Linked DNA regions of Homo sapiens: region 2 is linked to region 1. Evidence: promoter capture Hi-C in 16 types of primary human blood cells and fetal thymus (Javierre and others, 2016). All regions are on one chromosome and are shown on one strand. Each heading gives the region's core, a stretch centred on a gene start or on the middle of the fragment in contact. The rest is flanking DNA. Distances are from core to core; before and after follow the strand shown.

Evidence for each region. The method cuts DNA at HindIII sites, captures the fragments that hold promoters and counts their contacts. A CHiCAGO score of 5 or more calls a contact.
Region 2: a fragment that was not itself captured here is called in contact with the fragment with the promoter of MYL2 in region 1 in 1 of 17 cell types (M2 macrophages); the score reaches 5.0 in M2 macrophages.

The regions. Positions count from the first base shown.
Region 1 is chr12:110,919,329-110,925,446 of GRCh38, forward strand. It overlaps MYL2 (myosin light chain 2), which reads right to left and starts at 1,251. Exons shown (of 7, transcript NM_000432.4): 1 at 1,199-1,251. The coding sequence starts at 1,201. RefSeq lists an enhancer at 1-2,059. The HindIII fragment of the contact is 13,220 bases long and covers 1-6,118 here.
Region 2 is chr12:111,156,081-111,162,198 of GRCh38, forward strand. The region is part of intron 1 of CUX2 (cut like homeobox 2); the gene reads left to right. Among named protein-coding and RNA genes, the nearest start is that of CUX2, 120 kb to the left of the region's middle. RefSeq lists an enhancer at 4,603-5,214. The HindIII fragment of the contact is 7,135 bases long and covers 1-6,118 here.

The DNA of each region.
Region 1 (6,118 bases), core at 1-2,500:
ACTCAGGTCTCCAAACGGTGATGCTGGAGGGAGCAAAGGACATGACATGAAGTTTCTCCAGAGCCCTCTGGTACCAGTGGATCATAAGCGTTTGTGCATCTTGCAGTGGCTCCTTCACCAACTAGGAGAAGCCACAGGTGTGTCCCTGGGGATGGAGGCCACACCTTCAGATCGCCCCTGCAGGATCCAGCCACTTTTGTTCTGATGCATTTCACAAAAAGCTCAGTAATGCACAGAAGGAGAATTGATTGGAGGGAAAGAAAAAGTCAGGCTCACTAAGCCATGATGAATGCCAAGATGAAATGACAGTTCTTCAAGGTGTTAAAACCCAACTGCGCCCCACACCCCACAATTTTCCCTTGCTCCAAATGGCAGCAAAACCTCCTCTCTGAATGCTCCGTCCTTGCACCACATCAATAGGGCAGAGAAGAGCGAGTTGACCTTTCTTCCCCACCCCACTTCTCTCTGACTTTCAATAACAGCAAATGATTCGGTACTCTACATATGTATTATTTAATTCTCATAACCACTCTGTCAAGTGGATACTATTATTATCATCCCCATTTTACAGGAGAGGCAACTGAGGCTCAGAGAGGTTGGGTCACTTGCCCAAGATCACACAGCCACACACACAGAAGGCAGAGCCGGAGTTGAACTTGGGCGTTGAACTTGGGGAGTTGAACTTGGGCATTCTGACTCCAGAGTTCCTGCCTCTAACCACTCTCCCTCCTGTGCTGACCCTGATTTGGGGACTGCCCACTTCAGGAGGGGGACACCTAACCCAACAGCACAGAAAGAAAGGTTTTAAATTTGCAAGTTCAAAAGGTGAAAACAAAAACATTCTTTTTCCCAGCTGCCTGAACAAGAGAAAAGAATTACAATTTGATCCTTAAAAGCATTCAATCCCATTTTGCAAGTCCTGGGAGTTATTGATTCCTCGAGAGGTCAGTAGACAAGCCATAAAAAAGCCAACTCTCTTATTTTGTGTTTGTGAGTCCCCGAGAGCTGCTGTTATTTGTGGCCTATCGGGGCATTGATTGGGGTTCCTCTGTGCCCGCGCAGTCAATGGGGCTTTTTCCACAAGGGGCTGGAGGCTTTGAGGGCCGCCTTCCTCCCCCTCCGCCGTGGTCCCTCGCTTGTAGTGGCTTCCTCTCCTCGCCCACCCGGCATCATCACCTCCTGGAGCCCTTGTACTCACCATGGTGGAAAGGACCCAGCACTGCCTCCCGAGAAGAATTCCACACTCCGCCCAGCTCTCTGCAGCCCAGGAACAATAAATACTTCCTCCCCATGTTTAAAAATAACCCCATGACCGCTTTTGGCAGTCATAGGTGAGGCGGGCACCACCTAAGGCCCCCCCACCCCATGCCGTTCTTCTGAAGTAAGGGTGGCTCACTCGCCACTGGGTGACACGTGAGCCCCCAAAAAGGCATTCAAGGTTAAAGAGGCAGTAGCTGGGTCATGGTCACGGGGAGAGATGCTGCGCGCTCTCTGCGGTGCTTGGGCCGGGGACACTTGTGCTTGTCAATTTTGAGAAAAAAAATGGCAGGGAGAGGAGACTGCTAAAATGCTCTGTTTTATCAGCCTGGATCTGGCCTCAGGGTCTTTGCACCTGTGTGCCCTCTACCTGGAATGTCTTTCTGTCAGTCATCGCACGGCTCCTTCCTTCACCTCCTTCACTGCATCTTTGCTCATATGTCATCTCCTGAGTGAAGCCTCCCCGACCACCATCTTTAAAATAACCATGAAGGCTGGCACTGTGGCTCATGCCTGAAATCCCAGCACGGCGGGAGGCCGAGGCGGGAAGATTGCTTGAGCCTAGGAGTTTGCGACCAGCCTGGGTGACATAGGGAGATGCCTGTCTCTACGCAAAAGAAAAAAAAATAGCTGTGCGTGGTGGTGCATGCCTATAGTCTCAGCTATTCAGGAGGCTGGGACAGGAGGATCACTTGGGCCCGGGAGGTTGAGGCTGTGGTGAGCCACGATCACACCACTGCACTCCAGCCTGGGTGACAGAGCAAGACCCTGTCTCAAAACAAACAAATAACACAGCCACGCACCTCCTGCGCTCCGATCTCCCTTCTTTGTTTCTCTGCACAGCGTGAGGCAGTCCCGAACACTGCCCACAGTGCACTGACTCATTTTCTTCAGCATCTGTGGAGCGTCAGCTCAGAGGGCAGGGATCACTTTAGTTTCCCTCACCACTGACTGTCTCCCCAGCTCCCAGCTCATGATGCACACAGCAGCAGCTCAAAAATAAATATTTGTTGACTGAAGAAATGACAAATCTCATTGACTGAGCACTGGCACGTGCCGGACACTATGTGCTCATGGCTCCCACACATAATTTTCCAGCCACCCTAGAGGGTGGGGACCACCTCATCATCCATGCCCCCATTTTACAGATGCGGAAACAAAAGCTCAGAGAGGCGAAGTGAGCTGCCCAGGGTCACACAGTGATGGAGCTAGGCGTGGACCCCTCTGGAGGCCCCTTTGTCTCCAGAGTCCAGGCTCTTTAAGAGCCTTGAAAACAGCAGCTGCTCTCAGAATGCAAGGTGTCATTATATAATACTTTTACTGAAGACAGCTTTCCTGCTGGGTGCAGTGGCTTATACCTGAAATGCCAGCACTTTGAGAGGCTGAGGCGGGTGGATCACTTGAGTCAGGAGTTCAAGACGACCTTGGCCAACATGATGAAACTTGTCGCTACTAAAAATACAAAAATTAGCCAGGCGTTGTGGCGCGGGCCTGTAGTCCCAGCTACTCAGGAGACTGAGGCAGGAGAATCGCTTGAGGCCGAGAGGCAGAGGTTGCAGTGAGCCGAGATAGCGCCATTGCACTCCAGCCTGGGCGACAGAGTGAGACTCTGACTCAAAAAAAAAAAAAAAAAAAAAAAGGACGGGCATGTTGGCTCACACCTAGCACTTTGGGAGGCCGAGGCGGGTAGATCACCTGAGGTCAGGAGTTCAAGACCAGTCTGGCCAACATGACAGAACCCCATCTCTACTAAAAATACAAAAATTAGCTGGGCGTTGTGGCACATGCCTGTACTCCCAGCTACTTGGGAGGCTAAGGCAGGAGGATTGCTTGAACCCAGGAGGCGGAGGTTGCAGTGAGCCGAGATCGTGCCATTGCACTCCAGCCTGGGCGACAGAGCAAGACTCCATCTCAAAAACAAAGACCAAAAAAACCCCAAACTAAACCAAAACAACAAAAGATGGCCATCTTCCTGTGCCCTTAAAGACAGCCTTGGGATTCAGGGAGCAAGAACTCGGGGCTTGGAATCATTGTGGTTATTTAGTGTCCGTGGGTGGCAGGCCTGAGTGCCAGAGGCCACACCTCTAAGAAGGAGAATGTCCCTCTGCCCTCCCAGTAGTGTGGGTGCGGGGCTGATGGCTGAACCAGCATTCATTCCCCTTCATCGAGCCCAGCGCAAAGCAACAAATTCCCTTCCCTTGAGGTGCGTAAGTGCGAGGGGAAGATGGACAAGGAGAAAGTAAACAAATGCACAACCCAGACAGTTGCAGGCAGTGACGGATCTCATGCAGGGATGAGACAGAGGCATGGCAGTGGCCAGGTGACAGCCTCAGACAGGGGCGCAGGTGGGCTCCTCCAAGCAGAGTCTGCAAAGGGGGCTCCAGGCAGTGGGGACAGCACATACCTCAAGGCAGGGAGAATTTGGAGGCTTTGAGGAACAGAAGGCCCCCTGGGGCTGGAGTTTTCCAGAGCTTAAAAAAAGAAATCACTTTTCTTATTAGGTTTTCCAGAGGGTAAAAGGAGGTGAGACCTGGCAAATGGTAGCTATCACTCACTCCCCTTCTCAGGTGGAAAAATAATCTCAATTTGGGGGCACACAAACCCAAGGACCATTGATGGCTGTGACAAAAAAAGGTGTGGGTTTTTTTCTTCTCTGCAGTCCCACATGGGTTAGAGTTACCCAGGACACTCTTCTGACAGATCTTTAATAACAAAAGATGTGTTCATGTGTGTGTGTAGGCACATGCATGCACAGACAAAAACACGTCTGCACATGCATAGAGGCACACAGACACGTGCATGTACACGCATCCACATATGTGCAGTGCACACATCAAGAGGAGCTTTTCTGTCCAAGGTTCTCTGACAACACCAGAATAAATGTTTCCCTAGCTAATAGGCACACCATAGATTTTCGTTAAAACCCTGTGTGAGCAGTCAGTAGCTCCAACTGGCCAAGTGAAAAGGTTGTTGCAGCCACAGAAGATGTGGAGAGTGTATGATGGGGGGTGGGAAGCCCCGGGGTGGGGATTAGGATGGGCTGGGCCCCCAGAGTCGAGTGGGGGTGTGTGTCCCTGAGGGACACCTGTACAGCCAGGCCTCCAGAAGGGGTACTAGAGGAACCATTCTGGCTGGATAGCAAGAGGGGTTGTCAAATAGGGCACTCACCCTCTCGGGCCTGTTTCCTCACCTGGAAAAGGGAGATCACACACCTCCATAAGGCTGCTGGGAGGATTAAGTGAGATTGTGTCTAGGGATTCTGGGAAATGGCGGCCTGAATGGGGCATGGAACCACGTGGCTGCTGGGACGTGGAGCACGTGGGGTGTGGACTAGGCCTTGGGGTCTGTTGAGAGAGCCAGAGATCCAAAGTCTCTCTCATCAATGGGTTGTGTTGCCCCAGGGAGCCCCCAAGACCAGGGACAAGGCCCTGGGATTGGAGAATCCAGGGAGGACTTGGTTCTTTGTAGACTTCAGGGGTTCCTTTCAGCATCAGCCTCAAGACTGCGGGGGCTGGGGAGGGAGCGAGTGGGCGGCTGGGGCTGTTGTGCCCTGCCCTCAAGGCTGGGTGGCGGAGGCCTCTTGCTGAGAAGCACATGCCCACAGGACCTGAGACCCCTGCCTTTTTGCTACCTGTGGGATTCCTACAGCTAATAAGTTTCCAGCAGCTAGACCTGAGTCCCACTGAATAGAAGAGAAAAATAACTGCTCACTTGAGGCTGTCAGAAGCCAGAGAGAAGCACAGTGGGCCGATCCATCAGAATAGCAACTTCTAGAATATCAGAAACCCAAGTGTATTTGTTTCTTATTGCTGCTATAAAAATATTACCGATGTGGTGGCTTAAAACAGCACTTCTTTTTCTTTTGAGACAGGGTCTCACCCTGTTGCCCAGACTGGAGTGCAATGACACAATCATAGCTCACTGCAGCTTCGAACTCCTAGGCTCAAGTGATCCTCCTCTTTTGGCCTCCCAAGTAGCTGGGACTATAGTCACGCACCATCACGCTCGGCTAATTAAAACAATTTTTTTAGTAGAGACGGGGTCACATTATGTTGCCCAGGCTGGTCTTGAACTCCTGAGCTCAAGCCATCCTCCTGCCTCAGCCTGCCAAGATGCTGGGATTACAGGCTCAAGCCACCACACCTGGCAACGTATTTATTATCTTGTAGTCACAAATAGGACTGTGTTCCTTCTGAAGCCTCCTGGGGAGAACCCGATTTTTGCCTTTTCTACCTCGGAGGATTCAGAGGTTGGAGTGATGAGGACCACGAAGCAGGGAATGAGGCACCGACACTCCTTGTGGACCACGAGGTCCCCACATTCCTTGGTTCGTGGTCCACATCACTCCAACCTCTGAATCCAACCTCTCTGACTCCTCCGCTTCCATCCTTTTTTTTTGGGGGGGGGGGCGTGGGGGACAGGGTCTCACTCTGTCACCTAGGCTGGAGTGCAGTGGCACAATCTCGGCTCACTGCAACCTCTGCCTTCTGGGTTCAAGCGATTCTCCTGCCTCAGCCTCCCGAGTACCTGGGATTATAGGCACCCGCCACCATGCCTGGCTAATTTTTGTATTTTTCTGGAAGAGATGGGGTTTCACTATGTTGGCCAGGCTAGTCTTGAGCTGGTGAGCTCAAGTGATCCGTCTGCCTCAGCCTCCCAAAGTGCTGAGATTATAGGCGTAAGCCACTGTGACTGGCCCCGTTGACAATTTTAAAAGAAGAGATGAAGAGAGGGAAAATATGTAAGTATTCTTTATAGGTACACACTGCTTTTAAGTAAGAATGATTTTAGCCCCAAATCGAAGGACATGAATTTGCATATAGATATTTATTTGAGCCCCACTATGTACAGGGTGTGATGT
Region 2 (6,118 bases), core at 1,805-4,304, 240 kb after region 1:
CTGATTTGTGAAGCATTGAGTTTAAGACTTTAATAGTCGTTCCAAATGAATGTTTCTTTAATCCCGGGGCAGAAACGTAGGCTGTGATTGAGATGTAATTAATAGCACTAATTACTCTTCCCTTGCTCTGTATCCTTTCCCTCCTGCCCTCATCCCTGCTTCCCAAGAAACCTGATGGAAGCACCAGGAATGTTCCCCTTTTGCTCTAAGATGTTCCCCTTTTCTTCCTGCCCTCATCCCTGTTCCCCAGGAAACCAGTTAGCAGGCTCAGAGACTATCCCCATTCTAAACTCCTTATTTCGGAATATTTTCTCTGTCTCCCAGTGGTTCCTCCAGGGCTTTCCAGAATGTTTGATTTTCTAGAACCTGTTTTTCAGCCATCCTGGTGACTCAGCCAGTCATGAAGGTGATGCTCTAAAGAAGCAGCAGTCCATCACCTGACCCCTAGCGTCTTTCTCTGCAGTGACAGCCTCACTGATGCACTGGTCCAAACATGGGAAAGACTCCTGAAGGTCCCTGCCACCAGATGCCCAAAGCTGAGGAACCCCATTCAGCAGCCTGGTGAGCCCAAAGCACAACCTTAGCAAACCATTTTCCACTACAAAAAGTAAACAAAGCCGAGTGCGGTGGCTCACGCCTGTAATCCCAGCACTTTGGGAGGCTGAGGCAGGTGGATCACTTGAGATCAGGAGTTCCAGACCAGCCTGACCAAAATGGTGAGACCCCATCTCTACTAAAAATACAAAATTAGCCAGGAGTGGTGGCGCATGCCTGTAATCCCTGTAATCCCAGCTACTTGGGAAGCTGAGGCAGGAGAATTGCTTGAATCCAGGAGACGGAGACTGCAGTGAGCCAAGATTGTGCCACTGCACTCCAGCCTGGGCAATAAGAGCAAAACTTCTCTCAAAAAAAAAAAAAAAAAAAAAAAACAGAAACAGAAACAAAAAACAGGAGTAAAACACTTTGTACATATTATGAAAGAAAATAAGCTGATCAAGGGGGCTACACTGATTTTTTTGCACACTGCTTCATTCCCAAATAGTCAGAGATGGGTAGAATCGCCCAGTATCAGAACAGACTTTGAGGGAGGCTGCATTTTGCATGCTAACCCTGAGAATTCACTGGCAGCTTCCTGGAGCTCTGCGTTGACAAGGATTCTTAGACTGCATTCTAGATCAGCAAAAGAGAGCCTCATTCAATCTATAAACATTTTGGAGCACTTACTATGTGCCAGGCACTAGTTGGGAGAGGCTGGTAATAGATACTAAAAGACCAGCTCATGCAAAACTCAAGCACAGGATAGAGTTGGCATCTTATTCTGAATGCATTGAGAAGCTATGGGAGGATTTTCCTTGGGGAAGTGCTAGGATCTGGTTTATGTTTCAAAGATTACAGCTTTAAAAAAAAAATCACTCTAGGTTGTGTATAGAGAATCAATGGAAAGGAGGAAGGAAGAGATGCCAAAAGGCCAGGTTCAAGGTTATTGCAGGTGAGGATGGGTGATGGATAAGAATTTATTTGATTTGGGCTTTACATGAAAAGTCCAGTTGACCAAATTCATCGATGGTTTGGATTGCAGCATAGGAGTTGGTGATCCATTAGTAATGTCTACCATGGACACGGGAGGTGGCAGTGAGCATGCACATGCTACATATTTGTTATCTCTGCCTCATAAGTCATTCTTAGGTTGATGAGAGGGAGTGGGGAAGATGAAGAATCACTTAGGGATAGTAGTGTATAGCTTTAGCAACAGCTACAGATATTCCAGGAGATGTATTTGAAGAGGAATGTTCACTGGCCATTCCTGCAGACATTAAGCAAAGACATGGATTAGCACAACATCCATGAGACCACATGAATGCCATGTTGTCTCCACCTGAAATTGTTTAGGAATCAGTAAAGCAACTGGGACCCTCAGAAGATGTAAAAATTAAACCAAATCCCTGGAGAGATGTGCAAAGGACCAATGTGATTCCACAGAGACGCAATCAGGAAGGTTCAAAGAAAAGAGGCAAGGCAGGAGGCCAACGATGGAACGGATAATAGAAAAACAGTTTTCAATTATGTCAGGTGAAAACGGAGGATCAGGGATAGTCCCCTTCCCCCTCTCTTCCTCACCTCACAAACAGGAAGGACCTGGTAAGGATGGGTGGGGTGTGGAGAGCAAATAGCAAATGACCTACTGGAAGCACCTTTGATTTTTTGTTGTTGTTTTCTGTCAATCCCCATCTTTTAAGAAGAATGAGCTCAAGTGCGGTGGCTCATGCCTATAATCCCAGCACTTTGGGAGGCCAAAGTGGGAGGATCTCTTGAAGCCAGGAGTTTGAGGTCAGCCTGGGCAACAAAGTGAGACCCAGTCTCTACCAAAAAAAAAAAAGAATTAATTTTTATTAAAAAAAAAAAAAAAAGCTCAGCCATGATCAGACACTTGGAGAAAGTATGCCATTGTGTGAGTGGGCAGTGCAAAGATAGCCTGGGCTGGGGAAGGGAATGGGACTCTGGGGAGGAACAGCTGTTTTGAAAGCCCGGAGCATCTGCATGAAGATGGGTGACAGCAGCCTGGGGACCCTGCATGTTTTACACGATTTAAAACAAAACAAAAAAATCCTTTAGGAGAAGGGAAATGTTGTGAGATTATTATATTGAATAGGGCTATAAATGTAATTAAAACTTTCTACTTAAAGAAAAAAAAAGATACGAGGGCAGTCTGTGATTTTTGGCCCGGTCAGCCCAGCTTCCCTTCCTGGGAAGGGTCTAGAAAAAAGCTGTCAAATCATGAGCCAGTCTCTGCCCATGTACTCTTGGATGTAACAGCAGCAGTGTGGCCTTGGGAACAACACTCAGCCACAGAAAAACTTATTTCCTTCATGGACAGACAGGCTGGTCGTGAACACAGAGGGGCGCAGGAAATGGGAGCAAGGTGCTGTCCCTCAGGCCTGGGAAGGGGCTGTGTGGACCCCCATTTCTCAAGCCCAGCTGGTGTTCCGATCCCTCATCCCACTCAGACAGGTGTTGATAGTACCCACCTGAGAGCCCAACCCAGCTTCTCCTGCCAGGATTTTGTTGTTGTTGTTGTTGTTGCTGGAAACAGGGTCTTGCTCTGTTACCCAGGCTGGAATGCGGTGGCGCGATCGTAGCTCGCTGCAACCCCAGCCACCTGGGCTCAAGTCATCCCGCCTACCTCAACCTTCAAAGGTAGCTGAGATTACAGGTGTGCGCCACCATGCCCAGCTGTTTTTTTTTTTTTTCCTAGAGAGAGGGGTCTCACTACATTACCCAGACTGGTCTTGACCTCCTGACCCCAAGCAATGCTCCTGCCTTGGCCTCCCAAAGTGCTGGAATTACAGGCATGAGCTACTGAGCCCAGCCACCTGCAAGGATTTTAGAAATACTTCCCAAGGGTTCTGAAGCTGGACCAGTTTGAGAACATTTTTGGGTAGCTCATTTAAAAATATTAATTTTTTAAGGATGCATTATTTCATAAGCAACTGATCTGTAATTTTTAAAAATCAAGACATTAAAAATGATTTCAGAATAAACAATGAGTCTCCTGAACTTCCAGCCCCCTTCCGGCTATTCACATACTTCTTATTTGTTTTCTCAGGACATTTTGACCCATAGGCAAGCATGCAAGTGCAGCCCTATTTAAAAACAGAAAAGGAGGCCAGGCGCAGTGGGTCACGCCTGTAATCCCAGCACTTTGGGAGGCCAAGGCGGGTGGATCACCTGAGGTCAGGAGTTTGAGACCAGCCTGGCCAACATGGTGAAACCCCATCTCTACTAAAAATACAAAAATTAGCCAGGGAGGGTGATGCACACCTGTAATCTCAGCTTCTCTGGAGGCTGAGGCAGGAGAATCGCTTGAACCCGGGAGGCAGAGGTTTCAGTGAGCCGAGATTGTACCACTGCACTCCAGCCTGGGCGACAAAGTGAGACTATCTTAAAAACAAAACAAAACAACAACTACAAAAAAAGCAAAAGGAGTTAGGGGATGATTCCTTCTTTCCTTCAATATTCATTGAGCTCCTGCTGGGTGCTGGGCGCTGGGAATACAGCAATGAACAGAAGAATGTCTCCTGGGACAGGCAGCATAGGACGGGGCTAGGGGGACATTTGCTAAGCATGTCAACAAGTTGTGATAGAAGAATTACAAATTGTGATTCTGCAAAGAAACAGCATGCCATGGTTTGGAGGGCTATTAAATGGACCCCCTAAGGCTGAGGAATCAGACCAGTCAGAGATAGGTGTGTCTGGCCTGTGTGTGCAGGGTGCGTGTCAGAGTGTGTATGGGCAAGCATGTGTGTGCGGGCATCTGGGCGTATTCGGGACGTGTGTGTAGTGCAGGGTGTGTGTGAGTGTGTCTGAGCCTTCATCTCTGTGCCTGTGTGTCTGCATGTGCACACGTGCAGTGTGTCAGGGAGGGCCCTTCCTGGTCCAAGAACTCGCGTGACCCGGCACAGAGGGGGCGCGAGATGCGAGCAGGGAGCAGGGTGGCACTTGGCTGTGGAGGTCTCCTTGGCCACACGAAGGGGCCTGGGTTTTTGTCTCCATGTCCAGGGAGCCAATGGAGGGCTATGCAGAGGAGTGACGCAGTCCAGTGGCATTTTCAGGGGATTCCTCTGGAACAGCACCGTGGGGGGCAGGCGGTGGCCTGGAGGAGGAGGCTTGGTGACAGAAGATGGCTTGGACTTGGCCTTAGGAGTGGGGCTGATGGGGCTTGCGGTGATGATGTAATGTGTCGGGATGGAATGAATGAAGATGACTCCCGGGCTCCTGGCCTGAACAGCTGGGTGGACTCCGTGCCGCTTCCTGCCATGGGGAAGATGCAGGGAGGAATAGCGGGAGCAGATGGGACGTGAGAGTGCAGAGTTCCCTTTTGGCTATGGGTTTGAAACCTGAGATGCCCATGGTCTCCCAGAGGGGTTATCAGGTCCGCAGTGGGTGGGTGGTGGAGCTCAGAGACCTGGGGGCTGGAGGTGAGCCCTGGGCTTGACCACAGACGGGGCAGACTGTGTCTCCTTGGCTCAAAGGGCCAGCCCTTGCCTGGCTGCCCTGGGCTCTGAGCCAGAGCCCTGGATCACTGGAAGGGTACTTAAGCATGGCCACTTTATCCCCATCAGCTGTCTCAGCACAGCCCCTGGGCTCTGATGGGCAACACCCATTAAAGGGATGCACCCTCTGGGGACTCAGCCCAAAATGAACCAGAATCACAGCAGCAGGGCTCCATAGGGCTGGGGGATCATGAGGTTGGTTCCCCCAGCATTGAGGCCTCAGAACACTGGGTCACCTCCCTGGAGGCTGGGACCAGCTTCCCAGAGTGGTTCATGTCACGCTTATCTCAGAAAATAAGGACACACTTTGTTACTGAAACACTCTCTTGCATGCCTTGGTTGATGGTAATCCTAACAGCTAATGTTGAGTATTTTACTGTGTGTCCGCCCTGACTACCTATTGGCTCAGTTAATCCTCACAACAACCCCAAGAGGAAAGTTCTACAATTACTCTCATTGTACAGATGAGGAAACTGAGGTTCAGCAAAATAGTAGTTGCACAGCAGTATGGTGTAGACAGGACTGAAACAGGGCAGTTCAACTGCAAAACCCGTTCTCTTAGCTCTCACACTCTATGCTGAGTGTCGCTGGATGCCATTTCTTTTCTTTTTTTGTTTTCTTGAGACAGGGTCTCACTGTGTCACCCAGGCTGGAGTGCAGTGGCACGATCACAGCTCACTGTAGCCTCAACCTTCCAGGCTCAAGCAGTCCTCCCACTTCAGCCTCTCAAGTAGCTGGGACTACAGGCATGCGCAAACATACCCGGCTGATTTTTGTATTTTTCTGTAGAGACAGGGTATCCCCATGTTGCCCAATGTGGTCTCGAACTCCTGGGCTCAAGCGATCCTCCTGCCTTGGCCTCCCAAAGCACTGGGATTACAGGCATGAGCCACCGCACCTGGACAGGATGTCATTTCTTAAAGTCACTTCAGCAGGGGCGTTACTGTTATGCCCATTTTACAGAGGGGGAAAGCTGAGGCCCAGAGAGAGAAAATGCTTTGCTTAGAGTCGCACCACTAGTAAGCGGCATTGCCGGGCCTGGTGTGAAGCCCTGAACTCTCTCTCAG